3 separate regions of the Homo sapiens genome follow, and all the other regions are linked to region 2. The links are contacts of gene promoters, found by promoter capture Hi-C in human tissues and cell types (Jung and others, 2019). All regions are on one chromosome and are shown on one strand. The core of a region is centred on a gene start or on the middle of the fragment in contact, and the rest is flanking DNA. Distances in the headings are between cores, read along the strand shown. Region 1 overlaps DLGAP1 (DLG associated protein 1). Region 2 holds the start of LPIN2 (lipin 2). Region 3 overlaps DLGAP1 (DLG associated protein 1).

Region 1 (3,828 bases), core at 930-3,429, 690 kb before region 2:
CAGCTCAACTAGCTGGCACCAAATTTATCACATAAGCATGGGTCGAATCCTTCTGCTTTGCCCGGCTTTTTTCTTTGATGTTGCAGCACTGTCATTCTCCTAATCACATATTATTATTTTAACATTCTTCAGCAACCAGGATTCTCAATGATTTGTAGGGAGGGACGTGATTGCTTTTGGAGGCCCCAACACAGGGTCATTGCTTTCCCTTCTCACCCTTAACGGGAACACCACACATAGACACTACAGAATGAAGAATAGCTGAAGAAGGCTTTCACCCTGGATCCGGACTGTTTGGTTCTTTCTTCTTGAGTCATGTGGCATTTGGCTCCTCTGATGAGATCATTAGTACACTTAAAAAGCCATCATCAGGCCAGGTGCTGTGGGTCACACCTATAGTCCCAGCACTTTGGGAGGCCGAGCCTGGAAGATCATTTGAGCCAGGAATTCAAGACCAGCCTGGGTAACATAGCACAACCCCACCTCAACAAAAAATTTAAAACTTAGCCTGGTATGGCAGAGTGCACTCCTGTAGTCCTAGCTACTAAGGAGGCTGAAGCAGGAGGATCACGTAAGCCCAGGAGGTCAAGGCTGCAGTAAGCTATGATCCCACTACTGCATTCCAGCCTGGGCAACAAAGTCGGCTGGGCGTGATGGCTCACCCCTGTAATTCCACCATTTTGGGAGGCCGAGGTGGGCGGATCATGAGGTCAAGAGACAGAGACCATCCTGGCTAAAACGGTGAAACCCCGTCTTTACCAAAAGTACAAAAAATTAGCCGGGCGTGGTGGTGGGCGCCTGTAGTCCCAGCTACTCGGGAGGCTGAGGCAGGAGAATGGCGTGAACCTGGGAGGTAGAGCTTGCAGTGAGCTGAGATCACACCACTGCACTCCAGCCTGGGCAACAGACAGAGACTCTGTCTCAAAAAACAATTAAAATTTTAAAAAAATAAAATAAAATGCTAGGTGGCTGGCAAGATGGCTGAATAGGAACAGCTCCAGTCTGCAGCTCCCAGTGAGATCAACACAGAAGGCAGGTGATTTCTGCATTTCCAGCTGAGGTACACGGCCCATCTCACTGGGACTGGTTAGATAGTGGGTATAGCCCACAGAGGGCGAGCTGAAGCAGGGTGGGGTTTTGCCTTACTCGGGAAGCACAAGGGGTTGAGGAACTTCCTCCCCTAGCCGAAGGAAGCCTTGAGGGACTGTGCTGTGAGGAACAGTGCGTTCCGGCTCAGATACTATGCTTTTCCCATGGTCTTCACAGCCCGCAAACCAGGAGATTCCCTTGGGTGCCTACACCACCAGGGCCCTGGGTTTCAAGCACAAAAACTGGGTGGCTATTTAGACAGACACCTAGCTAGCTGCGGGAGTTTTTTCATACCCCAGTGGTGCCTGGAACACCAGCGAGACAGAATCTTTCACTACCCTGGAAAGGGGGCTGAAGCCAGGGAGCCAAGTGGTCTAGCTCAGCGGATCCCACCCCCAGAGAGCCTAGCAAGCTAAGATCCACTGGCTTGAAATTCTCATTGCCAGAACAGCAGCCTGAAGTCCACCTGGGACGCTTGAGCTTGGTCAGGGGCGGGGCGTCCACCATTGCTGAGGCTTGAGTAGGCAGTTTTCCCTTCACAGTGTAAACAAAGCCATGGGGAAGTTTGAACCGCAGCTCAGCAAAGCCACTGTAGCCAGACTGCCTCTCTAGCTTCCTCCTCTCTGGGCAGGGCATCTCTGAAAGAAACGCAGCAGCCCCAGTCAGGGGCCTATAAGTAAAACTCCCATCTCCCTGGGACAGAGCACCTGGGGGAAGGGGCAGCTATGGAGACAGCTTCAGCAGGCTTAAACGTTTCTGTCTGACAGCTCTGAAGAGAGCAGTGGATCTCCCAGCACAGTGCTCAAGCTCTGCTAAGGGACACTCTGCTTCCTCAAGTGGGTCCCTGACCCCCATGCCTCCTGACTGGGAGATACCTCCCAGCAGGAGTCAACAGACACCACATACAGGAGAGCTCTGGCTGTCATCTGGCAGATGCCCCTCTGGGATGAAGCTTCCAGAGGAAAGAACAGCAATCTTTGCTGTTCTGCAGCCTCCGCTGGTGATACCCAGGCAACAGGATCTGGAGCGGACCTCCAGAAAACTCCAGCAGACCTACAGCAGAGGGCAGGTTAGAAGGAAAACTAACAAACAGAAAGGAATAGCATCAACATCAACAAAAAGGACATCCACACAAAAACCCCATCTGAAAGTCACCAACATCAAAGACCAAAGGTAGATAAATCCACGAAGATGAGGAAAAACCAGTGCAAAAAGGCTGAAAATTCCGAAAACCAGAATGCCTCTTCTCCTCCAAAGGATCACAACTCCTCGCCAGCAAGGGAACAAAACTGGATGGAGAATGAGTTTGACGAATTGATGGAAGTAGGCTTCAGAAGTTGGGTAATAACAAACTCCTCCGAGCAAAAGGAGCGTGTTCTAACCCAATGCAAGGAAGCTAAGAACCTTGAAAAAAGGTTAGAGGAATTGATAGCTAGAATAACCAGATTAGAGAAGAACATAAATGACCTGATGTAGCTGAGAAACACAGCACGAGGACTTCGTGAAGCATACACAAGTATCAATAGCCAAATCGATCAAGCGGAAGAAAGGATATCAGAGATTGAAGATCAACTTAATGAAATAAAGCATGAAGACAAGATTAGAGAAGAAAGAATGAAAAGGAATGAACAAAGCCTCCAAGAAATATGGGACTATGTGAAAAGACCAAACTTATGTTTGATTGGTGTACCTGAAAGTGATGGGGAGAAAGGAACCAAGTTGGAAAACGTTCTTCAGGATATTACCCAGGAGAACTTCCCTAACCTAGCAAGACAGGCCAACATTCAAATTCAGGAAATACAGAGAACACTACAAAGATACTCCTCAAGAAGAGCAACCCCAAGACACATAATCATCAGAGAGAAAGGTCGGGTTACCCACAAAGGGAAGCCCATCAGACTAACAGCAGATCTCTCTGCAGAAACCCTACAAGCCAGAAGACAGTGGAGGCTAATATTCAACATTCTTAAAGAAAGGAATTTTCAACCCAGAATTTCATATCCAGCCAAACTAAGCTTCTTAAGTGAAGAAGAAATAAAATCCTTTACAGACAAGCAAATGCTGAGAGATTTTTGTCACCACCAGGCCTGCCTTACAAGAGCTCCTGGAGGAAGCACTAAAGATGGAAAGGAAAAACCAGTACCAGCCACTGCAGAAACATATCAAATTGTAAAGACCATTGACACTATGAAGAAACTGCTTCAACTAATGGGCAAAATAACCAGGAAACATCATAATGACAGGATCAAATTCACACAAACAGTATTAACCTTAAATTTGAACAGGCTAAATGCCCCAATTAAAAGACACAGAGTGGCAAATTGGATAAAGAGTCAAGGCCCAGCGGTGTGCTGTATTCAGGAGACCAAACTCATGTGCAAAGACACACATAGGCTCAAAATAAAGGGATGGAGGAATATTTACCAAGCAAATGGAAAGCAAGAAAAAAGCAGGAGTTGCAATCCTAGTCTCTGATAAAACAGACTTTAAGCCAATAAAGATCAAAAAAGACTAAGAAGGGCATTACATAATGGTTAAGGAGTCAATGCAACAAGAAGAGCTAACTATCCTAAATATATATGCATCTAATATAGGAGCACCCAGATTCATAAAGCAAGTTCTTAGAGACCTACAAAGAGACTTAGGCTTCCACACAATAATAGTGGGAGACTTAAACACCCCTCTGTCAATATTAGACAGATCAATGAGACAGAAAATTAACAAGGAAATTCAGGACTT
Region 2 (4,225 bases), core at 63-2,562:
TGAGACAGAGTTTCGCTCCCAGGCTGGAGTGAAGTGGCGCAATCTCTGCTCACTGCAACCTCCGCCCCCCGGGTTCAAGTGATTCTACCGCCTCTGCCTCCTAAGTAGCTGGGATTGCAGCCAACATGCCCGGCTAATTTTTGTATTTTTAGTAGAGGCGGGGTTTTGCCACGTTGGCCAGGCTAGTCTCCAACTCCTGACCTCAGGCGATCGACCCGCCTTGGCCTCCCAAAGTGCTGGGATTACCGGCGTGAGCCACCGCGCCGGGCCCCATTTCTTTTCTTTCTGAGACGGAGTCTCTCTGTCGCCAGGCTGGAGTGCAATAGCGCCATCTCGGCTCACTGCAATCTCCGCCTCCCGGGTTCAACTGATTCTCCTGCCTCAGCCTCCTGAGAAGCTGGGATTACAGGCACGCGCCACCACGCCCGGCTGGTTTTTTGTATTTTTAGTAGAGACGGGGGTTTCACCATGTTGGCCAGGCTGGTCTTGAACTCCTGACCTCAAGTGATCCGCCTGCCTCGGCCTTCCAAAGTGCTAGGATTACAGGCGTGAGCCACCCATTTCTTAAAAAGTATATTTTAATGCTGGGGACGGTGGCTCATGCCTGTAATTCCAGTACTTTGGGAGGCCGAGGTGCGGGGATGCTTGAGCCCAGGAGTTGGAGACCAGCCGGGGTAACAGAGCGATAAAAAGAATAAACAAAAAACAACAGAACCCCGGCATATTTTTAAAAATGAGTTGTGTAATAGGATTTTTTTTTTTTCGGTGGAGATGTAAGTAAGCAAAGGAGATGTGCTACTAGTGATCAAAAGGGGATTATAAAACATTCATTCCCTAGACTTTTTTTGCACTTTAACATTCCTTTTTGGCAATTGGGCTCTCAGTCCCACGTGACCTGCCGCAGGGTTGCCATGGGGACCGGAAGAAACTTTTTTTTTTTAAAACAAAGTAAGGCTCCTGTCGCCCGAGGCACTAGAAAATCGAGGCCCCGCCCTCACTTGGCCAGGGGCCCGGGCGCGCAGCCCAGGGACTGGGAGCGGTGAGAAGCCGCACGCCTGGCGCTCGGCGGCGGGGGCGCGGCGCGCGGCCGGGAGCGCGCGTCACGTGGCTGGGGCGGGGCCTGCGCGCTGCCCGCCCGCCAGCTGCCGGCTCGGCCGCCGCAGCCGCGGCGTCCCATTCATGAGGGCCGCCCGACTCAGCTGCGGCCCAGGCGGCTTCCAAGGCAGCGGCGGCTGCGGGCGCTCCGACCCCGCGCGCGCCCCCGACCGGCCCCGCCCCCTCGGCTTCCCTCCCCGGCGGGTCCTAGCCGTCGCAGTCCAGCCGCCGCCTGCCCTCAGCCGCCCGCTGGCCGGGAGCGGAGCCCCTGTGGGTAAGTGGGCGCGGGCCGGGCTCCTCGCAGGCGTCCCTCCGGGGCTGGCGGTGAGTGTCTGCGCCTGGGGGCTTCCCTTGGCGCGGGCCCGGGGCTGTCCTGCCGGAGGCCGGGACCCTCCGGGGCGGCGCGGGTTGAGCCGCCCCTCCTCGCGCCGCGGTCCCCGCTTCCCGGTCCTCGCGTCCCAGTCCCCGCCTCGCCGCGACCGCGCCACGTAGACGCGGCCCCTACCGCCGCCGCCGCAGGACGGACCGGCGGGGTGCGCGGGGAGCCGGGGGCGTCGGGGCGTCAGTGGTGGCTGCTGAGGACTCTGAACCCGCGCAGTTCCCTCGCCGCCGCCCTGGGGATGGTTACCCGAGACCACCCCTACCCCTGGGTTTGGGGCGCGGAGGGGAGTGCGGAAGGCGCGCGGGAGGCCGCGTCTCCATCCCGCCCCCGGCCCTGCGGGAGGGGGCGCCGGGCACGTGATCTGCGGCGAGGCGGGGGCCGCCGAGTTGCTGGTGTTTCTTCCCCGCCGCGCTTTGCCCCGTACCTCCGCCTTCAAGCTGTGTGGACCGGATTCAAATGTGGTTAGTTTTCTCAAAGCCCCCCAGCCCCCGGTGCAGATCTTAATTTGTGAGGAACACGTTCAGATACAGTTTGTACTGAGAGCCTCTCTGTCCACTTCTAACGCCAGCGGATCACCATTTTCTCCACTCGCCTGAACATTTTAAGACTCTTTTCATTGAAAATTCAAGATGACATTTTTTAGGCATAATTATGCAAACCAGTACCAGAAAGATCACCCTTCCTTTCCGAAAAGTACTGGAACTCTGAATACTTGGAAATGCTTTGAAGGACTACTTAGTAAATGGCCAAACTAATTTTTAATGCACATTTGGGGCTTACCCATTTTTTTTTTAATTGAAAACGAGGCTCTAGACTTGGTGTCAAGGTAGGTCCTGTTGAATGAAGTTCTTTACCCAGTAGTGATGATGGGTGTTACTGTTTATTAAAACTTGGCCTGGCTAGATTATAATGTTTTGACAATACAAAGTCGGTTTTGAAATACATTTTGAAATATTTACGAATTATTTAGTGGCCCATACTGGTTTATGTTTTAACGGTCTGGTGTTGATCGTTCTTAGTGGCTTCAGATTGAGAAGAAGTGGCAGGTGATGCTGAAGCGGGGGAGAAGCGGCAGAGCCGGCCACACAGTGCAGGGGATGGAGACAGGTGCTGGGCTGGTCCTCCTGCAGCATCCTCAGTTGTTGGAGGGCAGTCATCCTCAGGCCGTACCCAGCCAGAGAAGAAAAAGAACAGTGTGAAGCCACGTGTGATAGCCGTCCAACATCGGCTCTTCCCTCCAATTACATTGTAGTTGATTGTGGTATGTCAGACTGAAGTATCTCTTTTATTTCGAGACAGAGTCTCACTCTGTCGCCCAGGCTGGAGTGTAGTTGCGCGATCTCCGATCACTGCAATCTCTGCCTCCTCTGTTAAAGCGATTCTTGTGCCCCAGCCTCCCGAGTAGCTGGGATTACAGGCATGAGCCACCACACTCAGCTAATTTTTGTATTTTTATTAGAGACCGGGGGTTTCACCATGTTGGCCAGGCTGGTCTCGAACTGCCGACCTCAGGTGATCCGCCCCCCTCGGCCTCCCAAAGAGCTGGGATTACAGGCGTGAGCAACCGCCCCAGCCAGACTTAAGGTATCTCCATGCCCAACTTTTGATAGAGGTAGCCATAGAAAGCTAGAAATGAAACGACAGGTTCTGTTTTAACGTTTGATGGCACAGTCGAGAGTCAATAGGCACGCATTATGCTTAAGAGAAGCTGGAAATGAAGTGTTTGAAAACCCTTTAATACTATAGTAAAGCACTGTTAAGAAGCAAATAATAGAGTCAGCTGGGGCTTTGTCTTCTTTATTGCTAGGAGAATGTAGCAATAGAAGTTCTCATCGCCCTGTATTGCACTTTTGGTTTTAAGGACTGGACCCAGAGTTCCTGAAAGCCAAACTCCATAGCTGCTCAGTAAGTTCCAAGCACATAGCCGGCTTTGGGATGCGATTCGGTCGAGGTCTGTTGAATGAAGGTAGACGCAGCAGGCAGTTTGTCCTTACCAGTGACCTGGAAGACGGTGGCACTTCCTGAGTGAGCTCACTTACCTTCCCTGAATGGTGAGGCATGGATGAATATTCCTGGTGGTGCCACGTGTTAGAGGTGGTAAAGGGTCAAATGTTTACTTTTATTAATATTACATTATGGCTTGGTTCTCTGTGTCAGCGATTTTTCTATGCCTTGGGTACTTATTTCCTAATATATATCAGCACAGTAACGCCTAGCTGGAGGCTTTGTCTTGTTAGTTGATAGATTAGTGGTAACAGGTAGATTTGGTTATCTCCCGTAGGTGCTTAGCAATTTACATCAAGAGGCTTTTCTTTAAGTCTGATTTAAGTCTTTCCATCTTTAATTTAAATCCATTTCTTTTTACTCCGACCCCAGTGACTGTCGTTGAGTGTGTATTTGCCCGACTTGCCGTGCCAGATTGGTAGGCAGTGGTTTGGAATCTTCATTTTAAAATCCTGTTTTTCTCTCTCCAATACCCTTCACTGCTTGGTAAGTTTTTATACTTCTCAATGAGACCCAGAGTCTCGTGACCTACCATTTGCCTCCTTCATGATGAAACAACTCACAAGTTGGTAGATAGCCTCCAGTTGGCAGAATCCTATGTATAATGTGTCTTTAAAACTTGAAGAGTTTGAAGGTATTATAGCCTGGAGCAGTAAGTTTTATGGCTATACCTTGGTAATAAGACATTTGAATAACTTGGCTTAGCGGCTTTGGTAATTAACTGTGATTTTTGGAATCCACCTC
Region 3 (4,152 bases), core at 979-3,478, 600 kb before region 2:
ACCCTCCTGCCTCCCTCTTATAAGGACCTCACGATGACTTTGGGCCCATTCAGGTAGTCTAGGACAACTTTTCCATTTTAAGATGCTTACTAACATCTGCCAAGTCCTTTTTTTCCCTAGAAGGTAGCATATCCACAGATTTCAAAGATTAAAAGATGGGTGTCTTTAGGGACCATCCACCCATCCTACCACCTGCTTAAACTCCAGCAGGTGGCCAGGCATGGTGGCATGCACCTATAGTTCCGGCTACTTAGGAGGCTGAGGTGGGAGGATCCCTTGAGCCTAGGAGGTCAAGGCTGTAGTGCGCAATGATGGGGTCTATGAGTAGCCACTGCACTTAAGCCTCGGCAGCATAGCAAGACCTCATCTCAAAAAACAAAAAACAAAAAAAAACCAACTCCGGCAAATATCCTTCCATCCCATATCTCCCACCAAAAAAAAAAAAAAAAAAGGAAAAAACTAAAAGAGCATCAGGATTTGCATGACGCTAAGTCAGAAGGTAAAGCCAAATTTTCCCCTTCTTCTGACTTACCTGATAATAAAGCAGTGTCGCAGGACGGGGTGGTGGGAAAAGTCAAAGAGACTGGAAGAAGAGGAGAGAAGGAAGGACTAGGGCGGCTAGAAGAGGGAAGGGGTTAGTGACTTGCATCAATATGGGCCTCTTGACCATGCACCAAACACCTACTCAGTCTCCCTGCTACTTTCTGGACTTTCTAGGACTGGAACCCTGGTCCCTTCCCTTTTGAGTCAAGAGACCTTAGTGACCCCACTAGACTTGCAGGTCAGCAGCGCCCCTGCCCAGCCCCCAGCACTGCTTTACCATCCTGCCTGCAGGCCACCTGGGAAAGATGCAGAAAGAGAAACTGCGCTAAAAGGCTAGACTCTTGCATGTTGAAATTTCTGCTTATTACCTTTGGAATTTTTCTGAAGTCCCAGCCTTAAGGCTGTGAATTCTCTGTTTGTGGGTATGTTAGTTTGCTAGGGCTGCCATAACTAAGTACCATAGATGGGGTGCCTTAAACAACAGAAGCTTATTTCCTCACAGTTCTGGAAGCTGGGAGACCAAGATCAAGGTATCAGCAAGGTGGTTTCTTCTGAGGCCTCTCTCTGTGGCTTGCGGGTGGCTGGCCTCTCTCTGTCCTCACTTGGTCTATGCACGTAGGTCCTGCTGTCTCTCTTCTTAGAAGGACGCCAGTCATATTGGATTATGACCCTAATGACCCAATTAACTTAATCATCTCTTTTTTTTTTTTTTGAGACGGAGTCTCGCTCAGTCACCCAGGCTGGAGTGCAGTGACACGATCTCGGCTCACTGCCAGCTCCGCTTCCCAGGTTCACACCATTCTCCTGCCTCAGCATCCCGAGTAGCTGGGACTACAGGCACCCGCCACTTCACCCGGCTAATTTTTTTGTATTTTTAGTAGAGACGGGGTTTCACCGTGTTAGCCAGGATGGTCTCGGTCTCCTGACCTCCTGATCCGCTCGTCTCGGCCTCCCAAAGTGCTGGGATTACAGGCGTGAGCCACCCTGCCCGGCCCAGAACTGCCTTGTCATAGCTATGTTGGGTTAGGGTTGGGAAAAAGGCAGAAAAGGTCAAAGAAGCCTCCAAAAGCCCAGGCTTAACCTGTGTAAGCAAATAGCAACATTTATGGCTAGCAGTCACCAGTGCCAACTCCCTGCAGGTTATTTATTTGATGCACAATTCACAGCTATTCCCCTAAATTCCACCAAGTCCATACACACCCTGGACACAGTGGAAATAAAGGAGCAGCCAGTGAGTGTTTGTGTCGGATGTTCTTTGAAAGGGCTGTTTGACAGAAATGATTTCATTCTCAAGGCATGGCTTTGATACGGAAGTCAAACAGCCCGCAAGTTGAAACAAACCAAATAGCCTTATCTTATTATTGATTCATGGGTTTCTCTCTCTTCAAAGCCCCTTAAAGGCCGGACTCTGCGAATTGTAACTTGTTAGAGTAATTGCTGTTGCAAAGTCCTTCCTGGAACAGGTTGTGTCTTTGACTTACAGGATCTGAATTCTCTGACATTTTTCCTTGATAAACCTTTGTTAGACTCTGGTCAAACTCACTAGCCAATATAGGTTTAAATACAGGCACACATTGTTTAATTGTGCTTTTCTTTCTTTCTTTCTTTCTTTTGAGATGGAGTTTCACTTTTGTCACCCAGGCTGGAGGGCAATGGCACGATCTTGGCTCACAGCAACCTCCGCCTCCCGGGTTCAAACAATTCTCCTACCTCAATCTCCTGAGTAGCTGGGATTACAGGCGCCTGCCACCACGCCCAGCTAATTTTTTTGTATTTTTAGTAGTGATGGGGTTTCACCATGTTGCCCAGGCTGGTCTCGATCTCCTGAGCTCAGGTGATCCACCCGCCTTGGCCTCCCAAAGTGCTGGGATTACAGGAGTGAGCCACCATGCCCGGCAATTACACTTTTCTTTATCAGGCCTTGCAGATGTGTTTTTCACAAATCAAGGGTTTGTGGCAACCATGCATGGAGCAAGTCTATCAACACCATTTTTCCAACAGCATGTGCTCACTTCATGTCTCTGTGTCAGCAGTTTTCAACAATTTTTTTTTTTTTTTTGAGATGGAGTTTCACTCGTGTTGCCCAGGCTGAAGTGCAATGGTGGGATCTCAGCTCACTGCAACCTCCACCTCCCGGATTCTTCTGCCTCAGCCTCCCAAGTAGCTGGGATTACAGGCGCCCACCACCACGCCCAGCTAATTTTTTATATTTTTACTAGAGATGGGGTTTCACCATGTTGGTCAAGCTAGTCTTGAACTTCTGACCTCAGGTGATCCACCTGCCTTGGCCTCCCAGAGTGCCGGGATTACAGGTGTAAGCCACTGCCCCCAGCCAGCAGTATTTTTTGTTTATTTTTAATAGAAAGATCAGGTGATTGGGCTCAGGCCAGCCTCAGTTTGAATCCCATCTCTGCCACTCACTAGTTTGGGGAAAATGTTCTGTTTCTTTCTATGCAACGGATCACCCCCAAAACTTAATGTCTTAAAGCAATCATCTCATCACTTCTCAGTCTCTGGGGGTCAGGAATTTGGGGAGAGCTTTGGCGGGGTAGTTCTGGCTCAGCATCTCTCCTGAGCTTGCAGTCTCTCCAGGTGAGGGCTGGAGCAAGTGGGGCTGGCTGAGCATCTCCTACAGTTTCAAGGCTTTTCAGGTGGTCTTTCACATGGACTCACTTGGGCTTCCTTACAGCATGGCAGCCTCAGGACAGCTGGGCTACTTATGTGCTGACTGGTAAAAGTTACATCACCTGTTCTGATCTAGCCTCAGAGGTCATGCAGTGTCACTTCCTTCCAATTGTCTTAATTATAGGCAAATCACAAACCTCTCGGATTCAAGGAAAAGGGAATTCGTCCACCTCTTTTTTTTTTCCAGTTTGTTTGTTTCTTTTTGTTTTTTTGAGACAGGGTCTCCCTCTGCCGCCTAGGGTGGTTTAAGTGGCACAATCACGGCTCACTGCAGCCTCGACCTTCTGGGCTCAAGTGATCCTCCAACCTCAGCCTCTGGAGTAGCTGGGACTACAGGTGCACGCCACCACAGCAGGCTAATTTTTTTTTTTTTTGTTTTGTGGAGATGGGGTTTCACCATGTTTCCCAGGCTGGTCTCAAACTCCTGGGCTCAAGGGATCCTCCCACCTCAGCCTCCCAAAGTGCTGGGATTATAGGTGTGAGCCACTGCACCTGGCCTAGACTCTACCTCTTGAAGGGAAGCAGCAAAGTTCTAGAGCACAGATTGGCAAACTATCGCCCTCAGACCACCGAATGGGCTCACCTCTCAAACACAAACAAGGCTGTACATGTACACATCGCCCAGGGCTGTGCCACAGTGATAGAGTAGTCAGGTCAGACAGCGAATGATCCACACATCCTAAAATACGTGCTGGATGGCTTTTAACAGAAAAAGTTTGTGAACACCTGTTCTAGAAGGACATGTCAGATGGAAGATATTGTTGCAGCCACTTTTGGAAAATGCAGTCTCCCGAGGGCTGGTTACCAGCCTGTCAACTTTAGCTGCACCTCTAAATCTGTGAAATGGAATAATAATCCCACGTACAAATTACTCAGCAGAACTCTATGCCTGTGACAGGCAAAGTATACAATTTCATTTCTCCT

Evidence for each region. Contacts are between HindIII fragments. The study calls those that stand out against the background at their distance.
Region 1: a fragment that was not itself captured here is called in contact with the fragment with the promoter of LPIN2 in region 2 in 2 of the 25 tissues and cell types used here (IMR-90 fibroblasts and mesenchymal stem cells).
Region 3: a fragment that was not itself captured here is called in contact with the fragment with the promoter of LPIN2 in region 2 in 1 of the 25 tissues and cell types used here (thymus).

Annotation. Positions count from the first base shown.
Region 1 is chr18:3,697,723-3,701,550 of GRCh38, reverse strand. The region is part of intron 7 of DLGAP1 (DLG associated protein 1); the gene reads left to right. Among named protein-coding and RNA genes, the nearest start is that of DLGAP1-AS6, 47 kb to the right of the region's middle. The HindIII fragment of the contact is 3,729 bases long and covers 315-3,828 here.
Region 2 is chr18:3,010,231-3,014,455 of GRCh38, reverse strand. LPIN2 (lipin 2) reads left to right here and starts at 1,312. Exons shown (of 20, transcript NM_001375808.2): 1 at 1,312-1,369. RefSeq lists a silencer at 922-1,871. The HindIII fragment of the contact is 11,400 bases long and covers 1-4,225 here.
Region 3 is chr18:3,616,042-3,620,193 of GRCh38, reverse strand. All of the region lies in intron 7 of DLGAP1 (DLG associated protein 1), which reads left to right. Among named protein-coding and RNA genes, the nearest start is that of DLGAP1-AS2, 14 kb to the right of the region's middle. The HindIII fragment of the contact is 4,989 bases long and covers 1-4,152 here.